Regions from separate parts of the Homo sapiens genome. Here regions 1, 2, 3, 5 and 6 are each linked to region 4. The links are contacts of gene promoters, found by promoter capture Hi-C in blood cells and fetal thymus (Javierre and others, 2016). All regions are on one chromosome and are shown on one strand. The core of a region is centred on a gene start or on the middle of the fragment in contact, and the rest is flanking DNA. Distances in the headings are between cores, read along the strand shown. Region 1 has its middle 140 kb from the start of LSM8. Region 2 has its middle 110 kb from the start of LSM8. Region 3 has its middle 68 kb from the start of LSM8. Region 4 holds the start of CTTNBP2 (cortactin binding protein 2). Region 5 has its middle 90 kb from the start of LSM8. Region 6 overlaps CTTNBP2 (cortactin binding protein 2).

Region 1 (2,904 bases), core at 127-2,626, 170 kb after region 4:
TATTATTAATTGTCATGCTATTTTCGACAGACCTATAAACTGTTTATGATTTTTTCTACTTAGTAAAATCTTTGATACCTTCAGATCTTATCCACAGTCCAACAATTTCTCACCACCTCTGTTTGTGACTCCCATTGTCTAAATCACTATCAAATCTCACCTGTATTAATGTCCTTGTCTAACTTGCATTTGGAGTCTATCTTTGCTCCACATCAGTCTAATCTCAACCAATTCTGTCATAACCTATCACATCTCTGCTTAAAAATCCAGCAATGGCTTCCCAGCATACTCAGAATAAAAGCTGAAGTCCCTCAAGTCATTCATAATATTTTGTATGACCTGGCTACCATCAACTCTCTGGCCTCAACCCTTATTTTTCTCATATGTTACCGATGTTTACTAGGCATGCTGTCACCACCCAGATCTTTAACTGGCTGTTTCCTTAGTTTTAATTGCATTTCCCTAAGAGTCACATGGCTTACTTCCTCCTTTGCAAATTCTTCCTTCCGCACTTTTTTCTCCTTAGTGTTTATCTCTATATATTTTAGTTATTTATACTGTTTATTGTCTTTTCCACTATAATGCAAGCTTCATTTCCCCCTAAATTCCATGTTTGCCCTGTGATTTTTTTTCTTCATCTTATTAGCATCTGGCATTCTTTGAAGCAATCAGCTTGACATTTTTGCCTCAAAGCTATCACTTGTATCCCTCTCCCTGCTCAAGGCCCATCTTCAGTAGACTAAACAAATACCAGAATCACACACACACACACACACACACACACACACACACACACACACACACACAATCCTGTATACTAGTAAAGGAGTGAGAAGGAAAATACTCTAAGATAAAAGGATAATAAGTTTTTACACAGTAATTCTGTTTAACAGGTAAATAAATGCAGGATAACAGAAGGCAGAAACCTGATTTATTGCAGAAAACGGATGGAAAAAATTCTAAACACAACAGATGAACTCCAGAGCCCTGCTGTGAAAACAAGGAATTTCAATTCTGGTCAAATTCTCAACAGTGGCATAACTCTTAGGAAATCTCAGACTTCTCAGTCTTCAGATACTTTCTGTCTAGGTCTACTTTTCTGCATATTCCTAGATTCTTATCTATTCAGACATGCATCTGGGTGACAGTCATTTTAAGTCAAGATAGGAAGGATTGTCTTTCCTTATGTCTCCAGGCCCTTAGGGATTAAATAGACTTTATTGGTTATATAACTGTCCTTTAACCTGCAACTTCGGGGCCACAGCCTTTTTTTGAGGCTTACTCTGGGAAAATAAATCAATAAGAGGGGCCCTTATTAGACTTTTTTCCAACTTAAAGAATATCCTTATCCATAATACTCCATAGAAGTCTCAATGCCAATTAGTTGGTGCAAAAGTAATTGCAGTTTTTGTTATTACTTTTAATGACAAATAAAATTAATTTGTCAAACACTTTTACAACAGTTAAGAACTCAACTAGCTGGGATAGAGAAATAAAAATTTTATTTTAATGACAAATAATTGTTCACACACTTTTACATCAGTTGAGAACTCAACTAGCTGGGATGGAGAAATTTGCATCAAACACTACCATTCTGACTTAGAATAGTGGTCTTTATATTTTTCCTCATAAATCCTTTCCAAAATTTTGAGAAATAATTTATCTCCTCAAAAGTTTGTTTGCAGGAAAAAAATCATCAAATTATTAAGTAGTTGTAAAGCATTTAACTTCTGGCACATTGTAAAAGTTGGACTTTAGCAAATAAAACTATTACAACATTCTTCTAAGTATTTTATGAGAAATCAAGTGCTATATGATAACCACCATAATCCATTTAAAATGTATTTCTAAATTCTTCCTTAACATTTAGAAATTTTCATTCTTCCTTTTTGTGAACTCATATTAATATTTTACTATACTTCCCAGATATTTATTTTTATGTAATATATTTTGTGCTTAAAAATTATTTTGTTGATCATCATACCATGCTTATCTGTAACAAATTGCACATATAGCTTTAAATTTTACTTTTTAATTATCTCTAACCATGAGACTTTAACTGTTGTGATGTTTTTCTGGCTTGAGCTACCAATATAATTTTTAATAATATAGTCTTCTTCAAAATAACAAAAATATTAATTTTTTTTGTAAATTAAACATAAAAGTAAGCTTTTAATGAAAAAGCTTCTTGAAATGAGATGAAGAATAAAATCTCCTTAGGCTTTTAGTGAAAAAGAATAATGTTTACTGCTAAAGAATAATGTTTTCTGCTAAAAAATAATTACACATTATAACAGTAAACATTGTATAAAATGAAATTTTATGAAGATTGACTATAATAGGAGTACTTTATATATTATATATACAAGTTTCTAGCCCCTATTCCAAGAGATTTTAATTTATTTGTTTGTTGCCTATACTTTGAGCAACACTGGCTTTGTAGAACCTATTAAATATTTGGGTGCAAACAAGAGCCCTTGAAAGTTGCTATGTTAAGGACTGATGTGATCAGAAACTGCAGAAAGAGCAAATGAAGAGTGGATTGTTTTGGGCCAAAAAAGGCAATAAGGATACCAGTTATATTATTTCAGTAGTCCAGGTGGGAGAGGATGGTGCTGGTATTGGTAATGGAGAGAAATAGGTGCCAAATACATCCTGGAGATAAAATTAAACACAATATGATGATTAATTGAATGTGGGAAGTCAGGTAGAAGTGAGTGTCAAAGATGACAGGTTTTTGGCTTAAGAAACTGAGTGATGATACCATTTACTGAAATATGGAATACCAAAAGTGAAACAAGTTGAGGAATGCATAGAGGAAGATCATAGTTTCCACTTTGGATATGTCTGTTAGACACCCATGAAGTTGTAGTTGGTTGGTTACACCAGCATGGAGCTCAGAAA
Region 2 (2,913 bases), core at 341-2,840, 200 kb after region 4:
ATCATTATTTTCATCAATGGTCTTTTTTCATAGTAATTCTCTGCAAATATTCTGAAATGTTTGTGACTAATAATAAACTCCTTTACAAGCGGACCGCTCTGCTTTCTGTTTTTTTTTTCATAACACCATATTATGCTAAAATACTTTTCTCTTTTTTTATTTTCCCACATATTTTAAAATGGTGGTTCCAGGGGAGTGGAAAAAAACACTGGGCAGGACATCAAAAGATCTGCAGTCAATCCCAGTTTTATTATTTACAAATTGTGCGACCTTAGGGAGGTCACTCCTTAACCTTTGATCCATCCTTTCTGTACTCATGCAAAACATGGATATAACTGTAACTGCTATATCAAAGAAAAAATCATGTAAGTTAGAGTACGTTGTAAATCACAGAGTGATTTTGAATCTAAAAGATTATCTGAGGGCTCTTGTTTCTCCTGTCTCTCAACTTTGAGCCTTCCTCTTTACCTTATCTTCTCTCAGAGTTTCTGTATTGATGACAAATAACTATAAAACTCCTATTGTGACCTCTGTTTCTAGCTTCAGTCACCGGTTCAACTGTCCAGACATTATAACATCCTCAAGGTCATGGAACTCTTTTCTATGTCTTCGCATGTCTCAGACCAACCAACCAGAACAAAACTAGGGAGACTGTATTTGCTCATTCATAATTTAAATAAAACCTCAATTTAACACATCAAATCTAGCCATTTTTTTCCCAAACCTGGATTTTCTTTCTCCAAACTTTCCCCTTTTTCATAAATGTCACCAATACTCTGGAGGCACCTGGGAATCCAAGGCATTGTTGTTCCTTTGTTACCACTTTCAGTATTCAGTCTGGCATGAAGTATTTTTGATTCTTGCTTTTCTGCCCTCTTTTGTGTCCCTCTCCTTCATTCAAGTTTCCTACCAGCATCCTGGTTTATATTTTTATTACTTCCTGTAAAGACTATTACAATAGTCCCTTGGTTTACATCTCCAACCACAAGTTCTCTTTAATCCATCTAGTACCTTGCTGCCAGATTCCTTTTCTGAAAAAAAAAAATTGTAAAACCAGGTCTGAGAGTGAACACCTAGACAAATTCAGACTTGTCTGAGTTTGCCTGATAGTTACATAAGGAACTTCAGATCTTCAAAGGTTACCGTCACCTGAAAAGAAGGGAAATTCTCAATAGTTGTGATAGGCAGCCTCTAAAATGGCCCCTGTGATCTCTCCTTTCTGGTATTCATACCCTTATGTAATTCCCTCCCCTTGAATGTAGGCTGGACCTACTGGTTTGCATGTAACAAACAGAATATGACAAAAGTGAGGAGACGTCATTTCAGAGATCAATTTACAAAAAACAAACAGTGATTTTCCTCTTGCTTGCTCTCATTCACTCGTTTCCTCACTTGCTCTGAGAGAAGCCAGCTGTCATGTTCTGAGCTACTGTATGATAGGCCAATGTGGCAAGGAGCTGGTGTCTAGTCAATAGGAGACCCGAGCCCTGCCAACAGCCATGTGAGTAAGCTTGGAAGTAGATCCTTCCCCATTTGAGCGTTGAGATGACTACAACCCTTGTTAATATCTTAACTGGAGCCTTAGAAGGGACCCCAAGCCAGGGGACCCAGGTAAGCCATGCCTAGATTCCTCACTGACAGAAACCATGAGATAATAAATGCTTATTGTTTCAAGCTTCTAACTTTCAGGATAATTTGTTATGCAACAATAGATAACTAATATAACAGTTTAGTATGTATAAATCCACCTTGCTTTCTGGTGTCCTCCTTATCCCCTACAACTTGTGGTCAGAGCCCAGGGGGCAACAGGCTGCGATAATAATTTTCAACAAGACTCTGAGAAGAGAGAACCTGCTACTTCATGGACCAAGTAACGGAGTATAATATGAGTGGGAGTTATCCCACTTCAGCAAAGGGACTAGGGAGGAGCTGAGTGTTATGGCCACCAGAAGTACATTAAAAGCAGGAGAGATGACCATGATCTGGGTGCCACAACGTCTACACCAGAGATGACAGGTGATGTCTTAGCAATGGTTCAGGACACCTGCAGCCATTGGTAGGGTCTATCACAGGGAGTGGGAAGGAACACAAGATAGGCAGGAAGAAGCCAATCAGAGTTACTTATAATACACCTCAGAGTCTTTCTAAATGACTTGAGGAAAGCTGGTACCAAAGCCAGAATGCATCTTCTTTGTTTCTTTTGTACTATTGGGGCCCCATTAATCCTCCACGTAGGTGGAAGTGTGGGAAATATGAACCTTACCTGCTTCCATCATGTCACCTCACTACTCTTTATTGTCTATATTTGAACATTCCAACAGTCAGCTTCTAATTCTGTTCTGTCCCATCTATATTCAAATGGATGTGCATACTCTCTCTTAATGCACTGCATTCACTCTCCCCAGCCTTCTCACTGAATATAACTGTCCTCTCACTCCTTAACTAATGCCTATCAATGTTCAAAGTAGAAGGGAAATCTTGTCTTACTTTCCATGTATCATGCAAAATGATTTCCATGATTCCTCTGTGAGTATCCACCATGAAATTATGAAAACTCAATCTATCAATTGAGTATAACAATTAATTTAGAACATGCCTAGTATTGGTTGGACATTCCCCAAAATGCACAATACATCTATAACATGGTCACTGCTCTTAAAGTCTCTTAATTTTATTATAAAGGGAAAAACTTCTCCTGTGAAGCAATCAGAGAACATAGATATATCAGCATATCAGTGGTTCTTTAATAACAAGTCAAGTTGCTGCTCAGAGTTGCTTACTTTTTAAAAGAAAATGAGGTTAAGAAATAAGAGATTAAAATGTTTTTTGCTATTTCCACCCTCACCTTGATATCGATTATAAATGGGAACTTCTAGGCTATAGTGCTGGCAAAGATGGTTGCCTCAAAGGTGG
Region 3 (3,018 bases), core at 315-2,814, 240 kb after region 4:
CTCTTAAGAGCTTAGGTTAGATAAGAAGGGGATGTAAAGAAACTGATCTAGATAAGTTAGTTTACTTAGGCCTCCGAACCTGGCCTTTAATCATCTGCACGCAGGACTACTCCGGGGGCGACCATATTAATTATCCACAAGTGTGTTGACTCAAGGCCTTTGTCATTAAATCTGTACCAAATAAATGCCTGCAGCACCAGCTCGTCACGACCACAGCTGCTACAACTCTTTACAGCACACTCTTTGGTGTCTGTGAGTGGCCCAGTCCCCTAGACCGCTCTTTCACTGGATACCTGTGTCTAAGTGCATTTTTTCGTCTGTCACTTGGTCACGATCTGCAGGTTGAACCCAGCAGGTGATGGCCCGCATGAGGAATGCTGCAACGGTTCATGACAGAACCCTTGAAAACAAAGGTGAAGAGACTGTACAGTCAGTAAGTCAGTAAGTCATTGGTGCCCACTAGGGATTTCCAAGTTCAAGGGAATTGTTCAGGTTAGGGTTTCATCATGGGACAACAGTTATCAGCTCAACAGCAACAGTATACAGAAGTATTGAAACAGCTGCTTAAAGCTAGTGGAGCCTCAGTTTCACAGGCTCAATTAAGGGACCTAATGCAAACTGTTGTTTCCCATAACCCATGGTTCCTAGAAGAAGGTACACTAGACGTAGAGCTGTGGGAACAAGTGGGGAGAAATCTTAAACAACATCATGCACAAGGGCAACAGGTCCCAGTAACATCTCTAACATTATGGGCTTTATTTAGGGTGGCTGTAGTCCCGCTCTATGCAGAAGAGCCTAAAAAGGGAAGGGAGGAGGAACCGTCACCTACCTTACCACCTCCTTATCCCTCAGCCCCGCTAACACTGGGCCAAAATAACAAAGAGGAAATGAAGGTTTTGCCTGAGCCCCCTCCTCCAATAAATTGGAAAAAAGACAAGGGATACGCTACAGCTATGGGACCCTGTCTCAGGCAAGCGGCATTAGAAGGGGAACTCTAACCCTGCCAGGTAGTGCAAGATCAACAAGGCAATCAGGTACATGAACCCATTTCTTTTAACTCTTATAAAGAGCTAAGAAAAAGTATTAAAGAAAACAGAGCCACTAGCCCATTTATGAAAGGAATTATTGAAGCCATGGCAGACAACTTCCCATGGGACTGGTCAGTGCTAGCTAAAACAACTTTGGAGCCCAGCCAATACCTCCTCTGGAGGGCAGAATATGATGAGTCGTGTGAACAACAAGCCTACCAGAATCAGTTGGCTAGGCAAGACATAATGCTGATATGCTCCAGGGGAGGAGTCCCCATGCCGATGTACAACAACAACTAAATTTTGATCCCCAGGCCTATGTACATGTGTCTTTGTGTGATCTTAGGGCTTGACAAATTCCCAAAAGCGGAGTTCAACAGGGATCTTTTACAAATGTTCGACAAGGGCCTCAGGAGCCATTTGTTGAAATTATCATTCAGTTAACCCAGGCAATTAAGAGACAAATTAGTCATGCCCAGACCGCTGATATCTTATTTTTGCAATTGGCTTATGAAAATGCTAATGTCAATTGCCAACAAGCAATGCAGACAATCAGAGGAAAGGCAGCCACAGTCGAGGAACTTATACGAGCATGTCAACTGGTGGGGACTGAAACACACAAAGCCAAAATATTGGCTATGGCATTAAGGCCTCCTAAAGTGGAAAGGGACAGAAACCCAAAGTGTTTTCTATGCGGAGAGCCAGGTTATGTGCAGACGGAATGCCCCAATAATAAAGACCAAGGTAACTCAGGAAAAGAAACTCCTTCTATATGCCCCCAACGTAAAAAGGAGAAACATTGGGCAAATCAATTCAGGTCCAAATTTGACAAAAACAGCAACCCCATAAGTAACCAGGCGGGAAACTTCATGAGGGGCTGGCCTCAGGCCCCGCTAAAAGCTGGGGCAATGCCAGCGGCTTGCTTTGGTCAGATGGGAAGCCCACAGTCCTCTCTCTCAGAGCAGTCACTGCTAGGAGCGCAGAGCTGGACTTACTTTGCCCCAACAAATTAGTGCTAAAAGAAGGAGAAGACCCTAAAAAGGTTGCAACTGGGATCTGGGGCCCACTGCCTCTGGGAACAGTGGGATTAGTCCTAGAGCGATCAAGCCTATCCAGTAAAGGAATTAATGTGCTCACTGGGGTGATTGATAGTGATTATCAAGGTGAGATATTAGTTATGATGAAATGTAAAGGTCTGCATATTCTTCCCCCTGGATCAAAGATAGCTCAGTTACTGCTTTTACCATACTAGGTCCCCAACACCCATGGAAAGGAAAGGGGAAAAGGAAGTTTTGGAAGCACAGGAGCCACAGGAGTATACAGGAATCAATTAATCACTGATCAGAGACCCATGATTACCTTAAAAATTGGAAATAAGAATTTTACTAGCTTATTGGACACAGGGGAAGATACTTCAATCACTAGTGATCAAAACTGGCCAGAAACTTGGCCTCGGGCCACTCAGAAACAAAAAATTGTCAGCACTGGGGAAGCTCACACAGCCAAGCAGAGCATGTACCCCCCAACATGTTGTGATTCAGAGGAAAGAAATGCAGTTATACAACTTCTAATAACGTCCATCCCTGCTAATCTTTGGGGACGGGACCTATTAGCTCAATGGGAGGTCATTCTGTGGACCCCTTTCTAGTAATGGCCACTGTTATTATCCCTCCCCTACCTCTGATGAGGCTCTCTCAAGATCCAATTTGGGTAGACCAGTGGCCTTTAAAGGGAGAGAAATTGCAAAGAGCCCATGAGTTTGTTGAAGAGCAATTAAAAGCCAGTCATATAGAACCATCAAAAAGACCTTGGAATTCACCCATTTTCATCATTCCCAAAAAGTCTGGTAAATAGAGACTTTTGCATGACTAACATGCTATCAATGCTAATTTGAAACCTATGGGACCCCTTGAGCAGGTGTTCTCCTCCCCTTCAGTGATTCCTTGAGATTGGCATATAATAGTTATTGGCTTAAAATACTGCATTTGTA
Region 4 (2,922 bases), core at 57-2,556:
TCCCCGTTTCTCCTTCCATTGCCAGGCTCAGCTCCTCTCACCCCAAGTACCTTCCTCCACATCTCTCCTCTCCCTCTCCAGAAAGCCCTACCTCCAGAGGGTGGGAGGAAGTTAAAGCGGCCCCCGCTGTTTACGCCCGGCCCTGCCCTCTCCTGCACTGATTCTGCTCAGGTCTTGATAGGAAGAGGGGGGCGTCCACGCCCCGCTCGCTCCATCCCACCCCATCCTTCGGCGGGAGCAGCCAGATCTGGCCAAGAGTGGGAGGCGCTCCCAGATCTGCCTTTCTCTGCAGCTCCTTGCAGCTCCTGCGAAGCTGCTTCCCAAACACCGAGAACCTTTTCCACCCAGGAAATGTGGGTCCAGCCCTTCCCCAAAGTAGAGGCTGGAAACCACCAGCGAGTCTCTACACCGGAATATTAAGGGGGTGAAAGTAAGGACCAGTCAAGAATGGTAGCGCATTCGGCCTCTAGACTCCAGAGAAGGAGAACAATGTCTTGAAACCAGGTGCAGAACCTCCACCTCTCCTGAGCATCGTCTCGGGAAGAACCAATCCATCCACCCCACCCCAATCACTACCACCAAGTAATGGGGCAGCAGGCTGCTAGGACCTAAAGCGCTGGCCTCAGCGGCAGCAGCGCCCACATCTGGACACGGCCCTCTCCCAGTGGGCCTCCCGAAGGCACAGGACCAGATGCACACAATGGGCATCCCCACACCTGCTGGGCGATGGCCCACCTCCCCCAAGCTGCTCTCCCGGGTCCGCTGAGCGGTACCAGGCACCCCCGAGACACGCGCTGGCAACCACGCGCGCAGCGAGAGGTGAACAATGGGGGGTCAAATTCGCCAGGAAACACGTCCCAGCCTTCTCCCCCGGCCAGAAGCGACCGCAGCGGAGGGAGTGGGCATAGGGGTCGCACTGGACGCAGACAGGGAGCTGGGAGAACCGGGCGACCCGGGGCCGCTTCCCGTGGGGCGCGGAAGGGACAGGAGGGATCCCCAGCCAGGGTGGCCGCTCCGCTCCCCCCCGCGGCCTCCGCCGTGTGGGCATCCCGAGGAAGGGGGGCCCCGATGAAGGGGCACCGGAGAGTCCCGGGCTTACGGAACGCCCCGGGGGTGCGAAGTCGGGTCCGGCTGGGACCCCGGCGCCGCCCCCGGCCCGCGTCTACACTAGCCCCGCGCCCGCCCCGGGAACTCGGTTACCGCCGCCTCCGCCGCGGCCCCCGCCGCGTCCTCCGGGGCCCGGGACAAGTCGGGCTCGCAGCTCGCGCCGTCCGTCGCCATCTTCCTGCTCTAGCGGATCCGAATGCGAGCTCGGAGCCGCGGCTCCGGACTCAGCCGTCTCCGCGCGGGCGGCACTTAACCCGCTGCTGTCCGGGACGCGGGCGCCTGGAGCCGGGAGCCGGGAGCCGCGGCACTCCCTCCGCCCCTCGCCACCGCCCTCGCCGCTTAACCCGCTGCGCGCCGGAGCGCCCCGCCTCGGTCCCGCCCCGCGCCCCGCGTCCCGCGCCCGGTGGCGCCAGCCGCGGGCTCGTGGAGGTGCGAGAAATGGGCGCACGACCTGGCTCCGCTGCGGCCCTGCGCGGGGACTGGGGATCAAAGACCACGGAAGAGGTGAAGGCAGAAAGCGCCCGAGGAGCGTTGCATTCCGCAGAACCCCAACCAAGCCGGAGAAATCCGTGCACAGACCAGATTAAATGTCAGGCCTCCTGAATCTGAATTCTCTGAAAGATCAGGGAAAATCCTACACTTCAGCTCCCTCTATCCCACCGCGAGGAATCACACAGGGCACCCCTTTCTTCTTAAATTGCTCTTTCTTAAATTTCATTGCCGCCAGGGTGTTTTTATCCTCCCTATATATATACACACCTGGCTCTGATTTATTCTATCGTTGACTCTAGTGTTTCTCCAAAAACAATTCTCAGATGAAAACGATTTGTCTGTCCTGTTTTCTTTTAGAACGTGGCACCAGCCCCTCAGCTCCTAACTTTCTATACAATCTCCTTTTCAGGGAATGTGTAGCGGGCTGTTTTATATTCTGTGACCCCCCTAAGTCTGAGATCTCTCCTGAAGGACTAACTGAGAAGTGTTAAATGTCATAGCTTTAAAAGCTAAATGTCATGTCCTCTACTTTTGAGAGAATTTAAAAAAATTACTCCCTACGTGTGAGGACACGTGTACATATACACCAAAAACAATCAAACAAAAGCCGTATTTGTAAAAATAGATTTTATGGGAATTACACGTCTCAGAAGATTTTTCATGAGATGAGTGAATTAGGCCCAAACGCTTAATCTTCCCTTTCCACATCTAATTCAGTTCCTACCCTTTGCTGCCAATTTCCAGAATGTGAAAATCTATCACCTCACCAAGACCATATGGTACAGCCCTTCCCAAATCACCAGATCCCTAAAAATGTGTCGAATGCATAAAATCAAATTGAGACATTCAAGCTGTGTCTCAAAGACGTAAAATCAAACCACAACCAAATCTTGCACTTGAAATTTTGGAAGATGAATGACTAGAATGTTCAGTCCAAGGGTTACAGATCAAAGCTTTTTTTTTTTTTTTCCTTTTTTCTTTCTTTCTTTCTTTCTTCTTTTTTTAATGGCAGGCTCCTAATGAAAGGTTTTGACTCTTTAATTGCTCCACTTTCCAAATTAGACCCAAATATGACACAAACCAGGGCAGAGAAAATCTTTTCTGCAAAGACCCTGAAAGGGATTGATTAATAAACTGTGAAAAGTTCCCTCCCAGAAGAGAGGTCAAGAAAGAACTTTACCTAGAACTCTGGGGCTAAAAGTCAGAGGCTTAGAAATCATCTCCAGGTTATCCTGTGAGTACAGGTACTTATTTATTTATTTATTTATTTATTTATATTGGCTCTGATAGTTACTCCCTCACTTATCCCTTTAATATCCATCC
Region 5 (2,728 bases), core at 52-2,551, 220 kb after region 4:
TGAAATTTATTTACTTAATAAATGTGTGATACAGTAAGAGAATAAGAGATGTGCAAACTCCTATAGTAGTAAGTTTACAAGAAGTATTGGTGGTGAGCCAGAGATGTAGCGGAGAAGGTGGCATTTCACAGATCCTTAAAGAAATGATAAAATATGTAGATGGAGAAGAAACTGGTGATGGGGATGGGATGGGGTGCTTAGTCAAAGCAGAAAAAAACTTCATAAGCAATGTTAGAGAGATCGTAAGAATCAGGTACTTATGGGGAGTAAGGAATATTTCCACTAAGGATGAGTTTTTTACAAAGGATGTAATGAAGGACAAACCTAAAGGCAGCTATTTGGATCAGATTATGAGGAGCAATAAATTCTAGGCTAAGAAAATTGATTTATTCTATAGGAAATAGGGAAATCATTGTGGTTTTTACATGGAGAAGTATATTGTCATAATAACATTTCAGGGAAAGTTTTCCAGTAGTGATGTTTTCAATATATTTAAGAGAAAGAGTTTGAGATGGGTAATTATTAAAAGCGTCTAAGTGAGTAATAATAAAGGATAATCTAGACTGGTGACATGCTTTATTTTATTAATATATCTGCATACTTAATACAATGTTTTGCATTACAAACAAATAAAAAAAAATTTATTCAGTATCTCCTTACTTAAAACCCAGGCAAGATGTCATATTAAAGGTTAATTATGGTGACAATAAAATTAAAAATAATTGTATCATTACTGACATGATATTCAATTCATGGGTATAAAATAAAATATAAGACAACTAAAAATCTCATAGTGTTTTATAAGCAAGTAGATATAAATAAAAAAGTAATCTAAGGAAAACAGATTTCTGCCAAAATGGAAAATTGTCTTAGGAACTGCTAATTGTCACCTGAGAATCTTTCCTCCCTTTCCATTTTAGTAATAAAACCCCCAAATTTATCAAGGCATGCGTTCCCCAGAATCAAAGTTATACTTCCCAGCTTTCCTTGTAGCCAGATGATGTCATGCCATTAAAGTCTGGTGAATGAGATTTAGCAAAAGTGTCCTGTGTGACTTCTAGAAAACATCCTTAAAGGGAAGGAGTGTGCTCTGCCACTTCTCTTCCTGCCAGCTGGACTGTGGACCTCATGGCTGGAACCTAAGCAGCCACCTTGCACTGAAGATAAAAGCCAGGTATTGAAGACGGCAAAGCAAAAATCCAAGAGGAGTCTGGATCTCTGATGATCATGGAGTCATCATAGTACTCGTGGAGAATACAAATCAGATAAATAAAAAAAAATGAATCTTGTTTAAATCACTGTTGTTTTGGTTTTCCATCACTTGCAGCCAAACCTGATCTTTAGAATTTAATATTGTTCTAGCACTTTATTGTCAAATGCCATGAGAACTGAAGGAACCCAGAATGTGAGATATGGTTTCAGGGTAGGCTTTACTATAAAACTGCTGTAGGGAGATACTGGGTAGGATCTGAGCGGAACAAAAAGAGAACAAAAAGGAAGAGAATTTGCTTGGTACAAATGTGTAAATCCAAGCCTATATTTTTGACATCTTTAGTATTACAGATATATTGCTTCTCCTGCTGATCAAGTTGGTGTAGGTAATAAATCATAAATCTGAGTATACAATAAAATCTAGACATGTTGTTATACCTGTTCTACAAGGTGTCACTGCTACCTAGAAGCAGCCTTGGATGTGGAAGAGGATTATTCTCCTGGTACCTGGTAAATTGGCCTGAGATTATAGAAGAGGCCTCTCTCTGTTGTAACTGTCATTCAGGAGGGTTTGGTGAGAAGGGAATAGAAAAGCATAAGAGCAATTAATTAAGAAGTAGATTTTTATTTAAATTGAACTTTCAGTCAATTTACAGATACATAAATGGGCATTTGTCATATAAGGCACTCAAAGATACGTTTATTTGTTACTCTAAAACACCTAAACCAGAGGATGAACTAATTAAGTATTTCTTAAATTGAGGAAAATGTCTTACACAGGCTTAATCAAAGCATAGCAGACTGAAGGAGGGAGCTTGTGCCTGGTCATTAGGGGCTCTTGGGCCAGGAGAGGAAGTAGAACCATTGTCATGGGACAGTAACTTGGGCTTTTTAAGTAGCAAGTAAAGATCGTCAGAGAGGCTCAACATAGACAGAAAGAGTCTGCTTCAGCAAAGACATGGAATGTAGAGCCAGGGACAGGGAGAAGTTTGGGCAGAAATCTTTTATCAGGGAGGTTCGTAAGGGAGTAAGGTGTCCTGGCAGGTGAACTCTGCAGAGCTCAAGAAGTCTAGAAACAAGCTGTGAGGAGGGCTGGCTGGCAGGTGGATTGGCAACATGTGGTGTTAGTCTAACTAGAGGGACTCCAGCTTAGGCCTCAGTAAGAACAGCTGGAGAATGTCAGGACAAATAACAAACTGAACTTAGATTTGGAAAACAAAATGGAGGCTTGGTGATGAGGAAGGATGTAAAAGACTGGCTATTCAGACCAGGTATAAAGAACAAGGTTAGAGGGGCCTTAGAGCAATATTTCCCTTGGATAAATAAGGTAACTGGATCCTGAGCTACTGAACTATGTAGGGATGCAGGGGTCCTTTTATTCTTGGGTCTAGAAGGATGTTGAGATCGTGAATGGGGTCCAATTGGCCTCACATCCAGAACCTAGAAGGCTTTAGCGAGAGGCAGGCAGCTAATCACATACTGAACAAAAAGGATTCAAGTGCAACCAGGAAAGAGT
Region 6 (2,700 bases), core at 22-2,521, 150 kb before region 4:
TTTTGATGATGGTAATCACCCTTTCTCTACCTTTGTGTGCATTCTAACACTACTATGTAATCAAGTATAGTTTTTGATATGTGGCATTAGCCATGTACTTGTAGAAATTTAACTTTTAACAGCTTTTGCATTATACAGAAGAGAAAATATGAACAGGGTACAAAAAGTCATAGAATTTAAATGCTGAAAATCATATGTTTTTTAAACTGCAGATTATGACACAGTTAAAAAAAGAGAAAATAGCCTGTATTTCTTGCTGGAGGTATACTGATGCATATCAGTTATATATACACACAAATGCAGAGGCTTGTGTGTACAGATCATGGTGTAAAATGTATTTCTCACAATGGGTTATGGTTGAAGTTTGAGAAACACTCTTATAAACCATTTTAGACTCAATGTTATGAATGCATTAAAACAGTTGCTTTTGAGTGAATTCTAAAAATATTAATGTTGTCAACACAAATTTTCTCTAAAGAATGTTTTGGAAAAGTAAATATATCCTCATTAAAAGCAGATCAAAGAAAATCACTGTCGAGTTTCTTTAGTCATACTTCTGTCATTATTGTCCAAAGCACTGACTAGTGGCTTCTACTAATTACTACATAGCGCACAGCCTTGGGCTCTGCCCTAAAAGCCTGGGATCTGACATCATTGGCCTTTCTGTTTTAGGTCAGGAAAGAAATGGGCTGTCTCTTTATCAAATTTGATAAGCTTCCATAGTGATCTGCATGCAAAAGGATTCCTGTGTTGGTTTTTTTTTTTTTTTTAACCAAAGTCACCCCAACCATTGTAATAATCATATATACAGTGTAATTATTGGAAAAATTTACCATTATAAAAATAACGAGAGGCATGTCAGTCATGGTTTCTAACCCAACTACTGACTCATGAATTATATACTTTGTAAAGTTAACTTTTAGAAATTTCCTTGAAGTCAGTGTAAACTCTTGTAGTTTTATTCTGTCAAAGAAGTTCATGCTTCAAAGAATATAACATTTGATATCAAATAGTTCTAAAACTAAAATTATTAAAAATACAAATAATTTCAAGTCTATTCATCTTTTTTTACATTTAAGCGTAATATAGTTTTCTGATCCAGACTCTTCCATGATACTGCTTTAAATTCATATTCATTTTGTTGATTCTGTTTGTCTACTCTAAAGCATATACCAACAATTAAGTTAGCTCAAAAAGTTGGTCTTAAACTTTATAGAGATTCTAATAAACTTAGAAATGACACAGTGAAGAGCCTCAATGGGTGTCCAGTTATCTGAGTACCCATAGATCACTGCACGTCTAATAAGATCAGGGTGTTGTGGACTACAGAAAATAGCACTGGGCTTGCAAGAAACAATTACAGAACCGCATATTTCCAGGAGAGGTGATTTGGAGCAGGTGCCCAAGGGTTTCTGAACCTCAGTTTTATTCTCTGTAAATGGAGATCATTATCATTGTCTTGGAGCTTTCTTGCATACTGAAAGGACTAAGAGCAAATGAAAGGTATAATCCTTGCTACAGAAAGTCATCTGGGGGTCTATACTAAATTGGTGGGCTGGAGTCTAGTGATTCTTACTCCCTAAATCAAACACTCTGACAACTCTGGGAAGTAATAACAAGCTCTTAAGATCAAAACAGTATCTTATTATCAATATAAAATACTGATCTTTTTAAAAGTATAAGAAAATTCATTTTATTCAGTAAATTTTCATTCAGTCACTTAAAAAGGGGTCACAATTTGCTATCATGCACTTAGGGTAATTGGGGAACCCTAGCATATATTGATAGGATTAAAAAAACATTAAATTTTTATTAAAATTAACAAAATACAAGCTTAAAAATGAAAATATACTCATAACTAAAAGCAACTTTATGTTTTTTAAATATAAGATTTTAAGCACCTCATTTAGAAACCCCACTGCTATAAAGTTGGCATAAAATTTCACAAAACAAATACTTTGAGAGAGGAGGAAAATGAATGACATAATCTGAAGTCCACAGTGCACATGAGGTGGAAATTTCTTTTCATTTTTATTCCAATTTGGATTTGTTTTGGGAAAGACATTTATAATTTATATAATAGCTGATTATCTTATTATCAATGCCAAAAGGAATAGGCCTAACACCAGAAGATACAGACGTGTTACATCTTCTTTGTTAGAATGAAAGCTTACATATTTTTCACTTGATGTCCCATCATATGAAATCTGTCCAATTTATTAGAATATAAACTCGATGACGGCAGGATCTTTTTTTTTTTTTTTTTTGAGACACAGTCTTGCTCTGTCACTCAGCCTGGAGTGCAGTGGTGTGATCTCGGCTCACTGCAACCTCTGTGTCGCAGGTTCAAGCAATTCTCATGCCTCAGGCTCCTGAGTAGCTGGGATTACAAGCATGCGCCACCATGCCCAGCTAATTTTTGTATTTTTAGTAGATACAGGGTTTCGCCTTCCTGACCTCAAGCTATCCACTCGTCTTGGTCTCTCTCAGTTCTGGGATTACAGGTATGAGCCACCATGCCTGGCCGGAATATATATATTTTTTACCACTCTATTTCCAGTGCCTAGACTAAAACCCAGCACATGGTACACGTCATACATAAGAAAGAAATGTGTACACCTGATTCACCTGGAAAGGCCTTAAATGGGTATCAAATATGTCTCTACACATATTTTTTTAATGTAAGATTAACTTAGGAGT

What was found. The method cuts DNA at HindIII sites, captures the fragments that hold promoters and counts their contacts. A CHiCAGO score of 5 or more calls a contact.
Region 1: a contact is called between a fragment that was not itself captured here and the fragment with the promoter of CTTNBP2 in region 4, in 1 of 17 cell types (megakaryocytes). The highest score is 6.0, in megakaryocytes.
Region 2: a contact is called between a fragment that was not itself captured here and the fragment with the promoter of CTTNBP2 in region 4, in 1 of 17 cell types (megakaryocytes). The highest score is 5.1, in megakaryocytes.
Region 3: a contact is called between a fragment that was not itself captured here and the fragment with the promoter of CTTNBP2 in region 4, in 1 of 17 cell types (megakaryocytes). The highest score is 9.2, in megakaryocytes.
Region 5: a fragment that was not itself captured here is called in contact with the fragment with the promoter of CTTNBP2 in region 4 in 1 of 17 cell types (megakaryocytes); the score reaches 11.2 in megakaryocytes.
Region 6: a contact is called between a fragment that was not itself captured here and the fragment with the promoter of CTTNBP2 in region 4, in 1 of 17 cell types (megakaryocytes). The highest score is 7.1, in megakaryocytes.

Annotation. Positions count from the first base shown.
Region 1 is chr7:118,041,848-118,044,751 of GRCh38, forward strand. No RefSeq gene overlaps it. Among named protein-coding and RNA genes, the nearest start is that of LSM8, 140 kb to the right of the region's middle. The HindIII fragment of the contact is 1,581 bases long and covers 587-2,167 here.
Region 2 is chr7:118,071,987-118,074,899 of GRCh38, forward strand. No RefSeq gene overlaps it. Among named protein-coding and RNA genes, the nearest start is that of LSM8, 110 kb to the right of the region's middle. The HindIII fragment of the contact is 165 bases long and covers 1,509-1,673 here.
Region 3 is chr7:118,114,217-118,117,234 of GRCh38, forward strand. No RefSeq gene overlaps it. Among named protein-coding and RNA genes, the nearest start is that of LSM8, 68 kb to the right of the region's middle. The HindIII fragment of the contact is 3,203 bases long and covers 1-3,018 here.
Region 4 is chr7:117,872,135-117,875,056 of GRCh38, forward strand. CTTNBP2 (cortactin binding protein 2) reads right to left here and starts at 1,307. Exons shown (of 23, transcript NM_033427.3): 1 at 1,201-1,307. The coding sequence starts at 1,281. The HindIII fragment of the contact is 3,697 bases long and covers 1-2,550 here.
Region 5 is chr7:118,092,602-118,095,329 of GRCh38, forward strand. No RefSeq gene overlaps it. Among named protein-coding and RNA genes, the nearest start is that of LSM8, 90 kb to the right of the region's middle. The HindIII fragment of the contact is 6,249 bases long and covers 1-2,728 here.
Region 6 is chr7:117,721,504-117,724,203 of GRCh38, forward strand. All of the region lies in intron 19 of CTTNBP2 (cortactin binding protein 2), which reads right to left. All of the region lies in intron 1 of LOC105375469 (a long non-coding RNA gene), which reads left to right. Among named protein-coding and RNA genes, the nearest start is that of CFTR-AS2, 75 kb to the left of the region's middle. The HindIII fragment of the contact is 1,119 bases long and covers 713-1,831 here.